Linked DNA regions of Homo sapiens: region 1 is linked to region 2. Evidence: promoter capture Hi-C in 16 types of primary human blood cells and fetal thymus (Javierre and others, 2016). All regions are on one chromosome and are shown on one strand. Each heading gives the region's core, a stretch centred on a gene start or on the middle of the fragment in contact. The rest is flanking DNA. Distances are from core to core; before and after follow the strand shown. Region 1 overlaps PIK3R5 (phosphoinositide-3-kinase regulatory subunit 5). Region 2 holds the start of BORCS6 (BLOC-1 related complex subunit 6).

Region 1 (5,006 bases), core at 1,754-4,253, 760 kb after region 2:
AAAGCTTTGTGAAATAGCAGTGAGAGGAAAATGGGGAGAAAAGGACCCATGACTGGGGTTTGTAGTAATCACGGAAGAAAATGCTAGACATAGTCAGACGCGAGTCATAGACTTTATGAAAGCAGCTATCCAAGGGGCTGGGAATTGTTTCCGTGCGTATCTAGTCTATTAAAACAACAACAACAACAAGAGGCTGGAAGTCAGAGAGGGTGGCTTAACAGGGAAAGAAAATGGAAAATTAAGCTCTGAAGGCAAGTCAGAGAGTGTCACAAGGGAGAAAAGAGGCGGAAATGTGAAGGAGCCAGTGTGACTTCCTGGGGCATACGTCAAGATGGAATCAAGGTCCCCAAGTTAAGGTGATACGAAAGAGAGAGAATGAGCGTATCATGAAAGCAAGCCTTAAGAAAAATACAGCAGCTGGGTGCGGTGGCTCATGCCTGTAATCCCAGCACTTTGGGAGGCCGAGGCCGGTGGATCACAAGGTCAGGAGATCCAGACCATCCTGGCTAACACGGTGAAATCCCATCTCTACTAAAAACACAAAAAATTAGCCAGGTGTGGTGGCGGGCGCCTGTAGTCCCAGCTACTTGGGAGGCTGAAGCAAGAGAATGGTGTGAACCCGGGAGGCGGAGCTTGCAGTGAGCAAAGATTGAGCCACTGCACTCCAGCCTGGGCGACAGAGCGAGACTCCGTCTTAAAAAAAAAAAAAAAAAAAAAAAAGAAAAGAAAAGAAAAGAAAAAGAAAAATGCAGCATACATCAAAAAGGACCCGTAAAGCTATTTTCAGAGTCCAAACCAGAAGAAATCAGGCCAGTAACTCAAGACAGTGGCCGACGCATGAGAGAAAGCCGAAATGCGCTCCTATGTTGCCTCCATCTTTTCCTCCACTTATAAGTAGGAGCTAAAGCTTTACCATGATAAGCTTTACCATTGTAAGGAGAATGGTTAACCCACTGGAAAGCATGAATCACAGATGTTTTATTTAGTCAGCAGAAAATATGTATTGAGGGTCTACTATTTGAGGGACTTCACTAGGCACTGGGGGTCCAGAAATCTCACAGAGCTCGTGGCCAGGAGGAGGATTGAGAGGTCACTACACAATGTGAAGGAGCAACAGAAAAATATGAAAAAGACAACCCAGTAGAAAACTGGACAAAAGGCTTGAATAGACGCTTCACAGAAGAGGGTGTCCAAATGGCCACTAAACATGTGGAGAGGTGCTCCGCTTCATTAGTCAGAAGGGAAGTGCACATTCCCACCACAAGGCAATACCACTACACACCCAGCAGAAGGGCCAAAATGAAAAAGGCAAAAAAAAGCACTGTTGTGAGGATGTGAAGCCACGCAAACCCTCACGGCTGCTGCGGGGAATGTACGCTGGTACGACAACATACCCAGTGGAAGATGCTCTATCAGACCCTAAAGCTCAACTTCAGCATGCTCCAGGCCCCAGGTATATGCCTCCTAGCTACATGCCCAGTGGACATGCAACAGGAAGTTCAGAGAAGCACCATCCAAAATAACTCTCAAACTAGAAACTACCCAGTGGGTTAGGTGTCCCAGTGGAGGCTAATATGGGACAGGTGCCATAGGAACTTGGAGGAGGGAGAATGTCTATTAGCAAAGCTTCTCCAAAAAGGTGACTCCCGAGATAACATTTCAGGAAGGAGGAGCTGCCCTGGGTGAGATTCAGGCATGAATCTCATGGTAGGAAAATAAACTGAGGCAAGAGGCGGGAGACAGCATGGTTCCTTTAGGGAAATGCTGGCAGTTCAGCCCTACTGAAGGGTAGGCATGACATGGGGCACGCTGGGAGATGATGCTGCATGGGCTGGCATGGTAGACTGTGAACAGCCTTATCTGCCAAGCTAAGTGCTTAAGGGTTTACTCAAGCGCCATGTGGAGCCACTGCTAAATTTCGAGCTGGTGAATGACACATCAGCTTTTGGATTTGGAAGGTTGTACCAGCCACAGGGTGAAAGGTAGATTGCGGGGAAAGGGTCCGATATTGAAACATCTGATGCCAAATAGGGAGGCTTGCTGCTGAAAATGAGTTTAGGATTGCAGAAGAGAATAAAGGCATCTCAGAGTCATAAAGAAACTTGAGGTTGTGAAAGGGAGCTGCTACCGATTATCTTTGAAGAATCAGAGAAAATGAAAGATGTATAAGAGACAGAGACAGAGAAAGACAGAGACAGATTAGAAAATGTTGTCGTCATCGTGAGGAACAGAAAAAGAAAGGGAGAATTCTGTAATGGCATTTGCAGCAACCTGAATAGGATTGGACACTATTATTCTAAGTGAAGTAACTCAGGAATGGAAAACCGAACATCATATGTTCTGACTCATAAGTGGGAGCTAAGCTATACGGATGCAAAGGCATAAGAATGATACAATGGATTTTGGGGACTTAGCAGGGGAAAGGTGGGAAGTGGGTGAGGGATAAAAGGCTACACATTAGGTACAACGTACACTGCACCAAAATCTCACAAGTCACCTCTAAAGAACTTACTCACGTAACCAAATACTACCTGTTCCCCAAAAATCTATGAAAATAAAAATTTAAAAACAATTTTTTTAAGTGGAATTTTTTAAAGTACATGTCTGAGTCCACCAGTCCCCTGGCAACATTCTCTATACATTATTAAAAGACAGTTTGTGAATGCTAAGGGAAAGATCCAGGAACCACCAGCAGCCAATAGGGATCAATGGATTCACTGACTAAAGAGGTAATAGAAGAACAGCCACAATAGCAGCATATCTGAATTTGAGCAAGTCTTGCTATATAGTTTCATGATGATGTAAAAAATACGAATGATAACACAGATAGATGGATTCATTACTGGCTTCATAACCTCACCCAAAGGGTGTTGAGTAGCTTCATCTGTAGGGACATTGCTCCTAAAATGCCAGAGAACCCTGCCTTTGGTCCTTTATAGCATGATTGTGGTAAAATATATGCAATATAAAATTTACGATTGTAAGTATTTTTTTAATTCCAACTTTTATGTTAGATACAGGTGCAGGTTTGTTATATGGGTATATTGCATCCAGGTAGTGAGCACAGTACTCAATAGGAGGTTTTTCAATCCTCACCCTTCCCTCTCTCCCCACTGAGAGTCCACAATGTCTATTGCTCCCATGTTTATGTCTACTTGTGCTCAGTGTTTAGCTCCTACTTGTAAGAGAGAACATATGGTATTTGGTTTTCCATTCCTACATTAATTTGCTTAGGATTATGGCCTCCAGCTCCATCCATGTTGCTGCAAAGGACATGACTTCATTCTTTTTTACGGCTGCATAGTATTTCATGGTTTATATGTAGAACATTTTCTTTATCCAATCTACCATCAATGGGCACCTAGGTTGATTCCATGTCTTTGCTATTGTGAATAGTGGGGTGATGAACACATGTGAGTACATGTGTCTTGTTGGTATAATGAGCTATTTTCCTTTGGGAATATACCCAGTAATGAGATCACTGGGTCAAATGGTGGCTCTGTTTTAAGTTCTTTGAGAAATCTCCAAACTGCTTTCTATAGTGGTTGAACTAATTTACGCTCCCACCAACAATGTGTAAGTGTTCCCTTCTCTCCACAGCCTCGCCAGCATCTGTTGTTTTTTGGCTTTTCAATAGTGGCCATTCTGACTGGTGCGAGATGGTATCTTGTTAAGGTTTTGATTTGCATTTCCCTCATAATCAGTGATAATGAGCATTATCTTTGATATGTGTGTTGACCATTTGTACGTCTTCTTTTGAGAAGTGTCTGTTCATGTCCTTTGCCTGTTTTTAAATGGGGTTATTTGGTTTTGGCTTGTTGATTTGTTTAAGTTCCTTATAGACTCTGGATATTAGACCTTTGACAGATGCATAGTCTGCAAATATTTTCTCCCATTCTGTAGGTTGTGTGTGTACAGTTTTGTGCGTACAGTTCTAAGTATACAGTTCAGTGACATTAAGTACATTCACAATGTTGTGCAACCATCCCCACCATCCATTCACAGAACTTTTTCGTCTTCCTAAACTGAAACTCCATACCCAATAAACACTAACTCCCCGCCACTTCTCCCCCCAGCCTCTGGTAACCTCTAATCTACTTTCTGTTTCTATGAGTTTACTCTAGCTACCTCATTTGGGTGGAATCACACAGTATTTATCCTTTTGTGTCTGGCTTACTTCACTTAGCATAATGTCTTCAAGGTTCATGCATATCGTAGCATGTGTTTGAACCTCATTCCTTTTTAAGGATCAATAATATTCAATTGAATGTATATACACATTTTGTTTATCCATTTATCCATTAATGGACATTTGGGTTAGTTTGACCTTTTGGTGTAGCATGCTGTTTTTTATTAATAGTTTTCAGCAGGGCTTAGGAGGCAAGCTTACTCCACAACAGAAGGGATAAAGAACATCTATGTAACAGTGAAGATTCACAAAGTTCAAATGTGGATGAGACTCAAAATTGTTCTTCCATATCTATTCTCCTTCCTTCTATGGGGATATAACTTTTAGGAATTTTAGATCACGTTTCCCAGACTCTTGTAACTAAGTATGACCATATGACTACATTCTGGCTACTGGAATATGAATAGACATTGATAAGTGCAATTTCCAAGTCATGCTTTTAGAAGGAAGAGGCATGCACTTCCCTTCCCCCTTTCCCCTTCTTGCTAGCTGGAATGCAGATGCGATGGCAATTGCTAGAGCAGCCATTATGGACCATGAGATGAGAGCTACATGTTGAAGAAGGCAGAGCAATGACACAAAAGGAACCTTGGTTCCCAACCTATAAAGCTGTCATGTGAAGTCTGGATCACTTATGCCCAGCTTGCTACCTGAGACAGAAATAAACCTCTATCTTGTTTAAGCCACTATTATTTTGGGTCTCTCCAATCCAACAGAGAAACCAGTAGACCAACTAATATTTCAGTGAATGCTGAGTTACCTAATAAGAGAAATGATGTTTTTGTTTTTCTGTTACTATGCCATTTAGTTACAGCTG
Region 2 (5,350 bases), core at 486-2,985:
GAACCCTGAGAGCAGTGAGACGCCTCCCACCTCACCCCCTCCGCCGTGCAACCCATTCCTCCTAGCTGCACGCCGGTTCTGGCTGGGGAAGTGGTATGGTAGAGGGCCAGAGGGCAGAAGCAGAAGGCTCTCCATCAGCAGGGGTGCATCTTTGCCTGCGGGGTGTTTGGCCAAGGACGGCACAAGCTCCCACAGCCCCTGGCACCTGAGATGTGGCCACTGGAGTCAGGATAGCCACAGTGGGGGCTGGGGCTTCCTCTGTCCCTTTCTCCTGATTACATGTGGGAGTCACGTCCTCACCTTCAAGCAGACCTAAAGCCCCGTGTTCCCAGGGCTGGTGCTCTAGCTAGGGAGGAGAGTTGGGAAGAACAGGGTAGCTACAGATGGCCAACTGAATACAAGCAGAGCAACATCCCTTCCCACCAGGAGAGCCGTTAGAACTTCCCCACATACACCAGCCTAAGGCCCAGCGAGTGGGCACGGGCCAGCTGAACGCATCTGGAAGAGCCTCCAACACACAGGCCTCCCCTCAGTGGGCACTTCCCACCAGGACTCCCTGAAGAGTCCTTAGGGTCCTGCTGGGCCCTGCCCTGGCCAGGACCGGCCTCTCCTGTCCTCCTGGTCACTTGCACAGGGCCTCCAACACCTCCAGAGTACGTCGGATATCCCGGACTTGGCGCGCCAGCCCCTGAACCGGCTGCAGAGCCCGCTCCAGCTCCTCGCAGCGCGCCAGCAGGGTGTACATGCCCTTGATGCTCATGTCCACGGCTTCACCTAAGGAGTCCACAGCATCGCGGTAGGTCTGGATGCAACCCACGCTCAGCGCCGTCAGCTCCTGCACCGCGCCACCCAGACCGCGAAGCAGACGGTCCACCCGGCCTCCCAGCTCCCGACTCAACCGCTCCAGATCCCGCAGCACCTCGGGGTCGATTGGGGGAATGGCCGGTGTGGGTGTGGGTGCAGGCGCTGGGCAGGGCCGCGCAGGGGCAGAAGGCGGGGGTGGAGGCGCGCCGCTCAGACGGATCTTGAGTTGCAGGTTGTTGGCGACAAAGTGGGTAAGGTCGCCGTGGCGGCTCACTGTGCCTTCGAGCTCCAGGGGACTGGAGATGGTGGCGCGGCGTCCGCCGCCCGCGCCGGACTCGGCACTCCCTGAGGACCCGGCGCCACCGCACGCCTCGCTCAGCCCGTCCAGGCTGCGGCTGTCCTGAAGACGGCTGGAGAACGAGCGGCCGGCTCTGCTGCCCGCGGCCGCCTCCTCGTCGTTGTCTTCCTCCTCCTGCTGCTCAACATCCATCCCGCCGCCTGGTCCCCCTCGACGGCAGTCCCTCCCGGAGGAGGGCTTGCCCTCGGGCGGCGCCGGGTTCTTGTGCCGGGAGGACAGGGAAGGTTCGTGCTCTGCACCCGGCGCCCCCCTGCGGCTCCCGGCCCCAGACAGCGTCCCTTGAGGGCCGGGCTCGTTCTCCAGAGCCTCCCGTTCCGGCCGGTGGACGACGCCGCAGCTTGACGTCTTCGGGGACGTCCTGGGGTGGCGGTTCGCGCCCCCAACGTTCTCGGTCTCTTCCTCCCCGGACACCCGGAGGCCTGCGGGCGGCTCAGAGGACGTTCGGCCCGGCCCGCCGCCAAAGACTAGGGCCTGATGTTCCGCTACAGCCAGAAGGTCCGTCTCGGGCCCGGGCCGCCCCCGAGACGACTCCATACTGCAGGTGGGGGCCGCAACGGAGGAATTGGTTCGCCCCGGCTCCGGAGGCAGTGGCTGCGCCTTTAAGGGGCGTTGGTAGAGGCGAGCCGATTGGCAGCGGCTGACAATGGTAAGGACAGGAAAAGCATTTTGATTGGTCGCGGCGACCAGGAAGTCCCGGAAGAAGAGCTGTTACTGCACAGCGGAACACACGTGAACGCCGGCAGGGTGGAGAGAAGGAGGTGACAGCTGCTCCCGTCGCCCCGCCCTTTCTGAAAGCTGATGGGGCAGATCTTAAAGACCAAGGTCCTCAAATTCCTGAGTCCCGAGGGGTGGGGCTCAGATCCTTTCTGCCTGTAATTGTACCCCCCCCAACAGTGATTGCTTAGCAAAAATACCAAGTGGGGAGCCCACTTGGGGTTCCTAGAGAGGTTCTTAGGATGAAAATGGCATATCCTTCTTGGACCATCAGGGTTGAACCTAGTTGACTAAAAAGAAGGAAACCAGAAGTCCAGCATGAGCATGAATGGTTTGCTCTATCTTTCTTGGTTAAGAGACCTAACCACTGAACTGCTCAGAGCGACCCACTGTGGTCAAGGCAGCGGCCTCTGGGCTTTCCTATGCGTTTGTCACTCTTGTTCTGTGTCTCTTGCCCCTTTCACACTGAGGGGTCTCGCCCCTTGGAGGATGGCGTGTGATTTTGCCACGAGGTAAAATATTCAACAAATGAAATGATCACAAATTTTGATATGTGCTATACAGGAAATAAAGTGTTATGATTGAGAATATAACTGAGCAGGCACTAGTTTAGGTAAGGGGTCAGGAAAATACCTCTTTGGTGAGACTTTTAACTAAAAAGAACCAAAAAGACGCAGCCACCCCCCAGGCAGAGAGAAGAAAACTTGAGCTACCTCTCAGAGACAAAGAAGTCTTGACGTATTCAAGAAACTGAGGTGAGGGGGCAGGAGACATTGGGACTAAAACAAAATCAGCAAGATAAGGGGAAGGATTTCGAGCCAAGGAGCTGAACAGGCAGCAGGGGCCACGTCATGCAGGGGGCCTTGTAGTTCCTGTTAGGGAATGGAGATTTCCTCTAAATGCAATGGTGCAGCGACATTGGAAAGGTTGTACATTGCAACACATAGCCAAAGCTTGGAGACATCAGTATTTTTATTTATTTATTTATTTATTTATTTATTTATTTATTTATGTATTTAGAGACAGAGTCCCACTCCGTCACCCAGGCTGGAGTGCAGTGGCGCGATCTCGGCTCACTGCAACCTCCGCCTCCTGGGTTCACGCGATTCTCCTAACTCAGTCTCCCGGGTAGCTGGGATTACAAGCGCCCGCCACCACGCCCGGCTAATTTTGTATTTTTAGTAGAGATGGGGTTTCACCATGTTGGCCAGGCTGGTCTTGAACTACTGGCCTCAAGTGATCCACCCGCCTCGGCCTCCCAAAGTGCTAGCATGACAGGCGTGAGCCACCGTGCCCGGCCAGACATCAGTATTTAATAAAAACAGTTTGCTAACTCTCCTTAGCTGACAAAGGATGTGGTTGTTTTTTCCATTTGGATAGAGAGATGTCTTGAGGCAGTGTCATGCCAGCATTCAGAAGTGCAACTCCCCAGAACTTCCCAGCACTACTATCCCCAGGTGCCTGCCGGGGTCCTAGCCAGCCAACCCTAATGATAGTAGCTCAATCTTTCACCACGCCTGAGGAGTCCACAATTGTCAGCTGTCTGTATCTTATAGTCACCTGCAGCTTGACAAAACCTGTCATTCCTTTGCTCTAAAAAAAAAAACCTAAAAAGCTCATATATAATTGGGCTGGGTAGGTAGATATTCTTTAGAAGATGGGAGGACTTCCCTTGAGAATGGGAAGCTGAGCACAGGAAGAGAGTGATGTGATGGGATTCATGTTTAGGGATTACTGGCTGTTGTAGAAAATGTTTGCAAGGGAGACGGTAGACCAGTGAGGAGGCGGTTCCAAGTACCAGGTGATAGTAGCTCAGCCTAGCACGATGTGGATGGATGCATTCTAGATGTATCTTGAAGGTTTTAGCGGACAAATGGGCTACCCACCGTCTCTCTGTGTAGGGGAAGCTCCTCACTCCTCAACTCCCCATTCCCTGATGTGTTGGTGCAATGACAGCCAGGAACAGGCACGTGACCCAAAACTGGCCAATTAGAGTACTTCATCCTTCTGACTGCAGATTGGCTCAGGGAAGGGCACATGACCCAATGTATGACCAGTAAAAATCCTCCACAGTGTTGTTTGTTTCTAGCTTTGTGGAGAGTGTGAGACGCCTTTCTGTTCTCTTGAGAGCTCAAGCTGGGTATCAGCTTGTCCATCTTTCATGTCCAGGAGATCGCTGTCTGTAGAAGGAAAGAATGAGGCTGATAAGGAAGAGAACCAGAGACAAAAGATGAAGAGGCATGAGTTCTGAGAGCGTTTGAATTCCTGTGCCAGCCTGAAGATAGCCCCACCTTTATCCTTCCTGTGATTTGGTTCCTTGCCCCACCCCTATCGCACCACCTCCCCCGCAAAACCTTGTTTCTTCCTACGGTGACTTCTGTCTCAGTAAGTGGCAACTCCATCTTCCCAGTGGCCAAGGCCAAAAACCCTGGAGTTGTACTTGACTCCTCTTTCTGTCATAATCCATGGCCAATCCTTTAGGAAATCTTGTTGGTTCTGCTCGAAAATACATCCAGAATCTGACCACTTCTCATCCTTACCATTGTTTCTGCCCTGGTCCAAACCACCATCATTTTTGGCCTGGATAAATGAAGTTGCTTCCCGAATGGTCTCACTTCTTCTACCCTCACCTCTCTCTACAGTCTATTTTCAATAGAGAACCAGAATGATCCTTTAAAAATGTAAATTATCAGCAGGGCGCGGTGGCTCACGCCTGTAATCTCAACACTTTGGGAGGCCGAGGTGGGCGGATCACGAGGTCAGGAGATCGAGACCATCCTGGCCAACATGGGGAAACCCCGCCTTTACTAAAAATACAAAAACATTAGCCCGGTGTGGTGGCGCGCACCTGTAATCCCAGCTAATCTGGAGGCCGAGGCAGGAGAATCACTTGAACCCGGGAGGCGGAGGTTGCAGTGAGCCGAGATTGTGCCACTGCACTCCAGCCTGGCAACAGAGCGAGACTCCGTCTCAAAAAAAAAAAAAAAAAAAAAAAAAAAAATTAGCCAGACATGGTGTTGCACACCTGGAGTCCCAGCTACTGTAGAGGCTGATGCGGGAGGATTGCTTGAACCCAGAAGGTTGAATCTGCAGTGAGCTATCATCGGACTATTGCACTCCAGTCTGGGCAACAGAGCCAGACCCTATTTCAAAAAAAGAATTAACTGATTAGGTTAAGAGTTATGCTCCTCCTGGAGCTAGGGATGGGTCAGTTCCTTCCAAATTCAAACAGTTGCGACATAATGGGAAGGCAGGAGGGGCTGTCAGGAGGCTACCACAGTGTCCACTACAGTGGGGTTCAGCAAAGTATAGCCCAAGGGCCAAATCCAGCTCAACACCTGTTGTTATACGGCCATGAGCTAAGAATGCTTTTATGTTTTTATTTGTTTGTTTGAGACAGAGTTTCGCTCTTGTTGCCCAGGCTGGAATGCAGTGGCGCAATCTCAGCTCACTACAACCTCTGCCTCCCAGGTT

Evidence for each region. Contacts are between HindIII fragments. The CHiCAGO score rates a contact against its expected background, and 5 or more counts as called.
Region 1: a contact is called between a fragment that was not itself captured here and the fragment with the promoter of BORCS6 in region 2, in 1 of 17 cell types (naive CD8 T cells). The highest score is 5.0, in naive CD8 T cells.

The regions. Positions count from the first base shown.
Region 1 is chr17:8,947,347-8,952,352 of GRCh38, forward strand. The region is part of intron 1 of PIK3R5 (phosphoinositide-3-kinase regulatory subunit 5); the gene reads right to left. Among named protein-coding and RNA genes, the nearest start is that of PIK3R5, 16 kb to the right of the region's middle. The HindIII fragment of the contact is 2,759 bases long and covers 1,625-4,383 here.
Region 2 is chr17:8,188,445-8,193,794 of GRCh38, forward strand. BORCS6 (BLOC-1 related complex subunit 6) reads right to left here and starts at 1,736. Exons shown (of 1, transcript NM_017622.3): 1 at 1-1,736. The coding sequence starts at 1,696. The coding sequence ends at 623. It overlaps LOC124903913 (a long non-coding RNA gene), which reads right to left. Exons shown (of 2, transcript XR_007065604.1): 2 at 2,831-4,056. RefSeq lists enhancers at 903-1,549, 1,528-1,807, 1,550-2,195, 4,013-4,112 and silencers at 988-1,037, 1,108-1,167, 1,368-1,417. The HindIII fragment of the contact is 3,696 bases long and covers 1-2,827 here.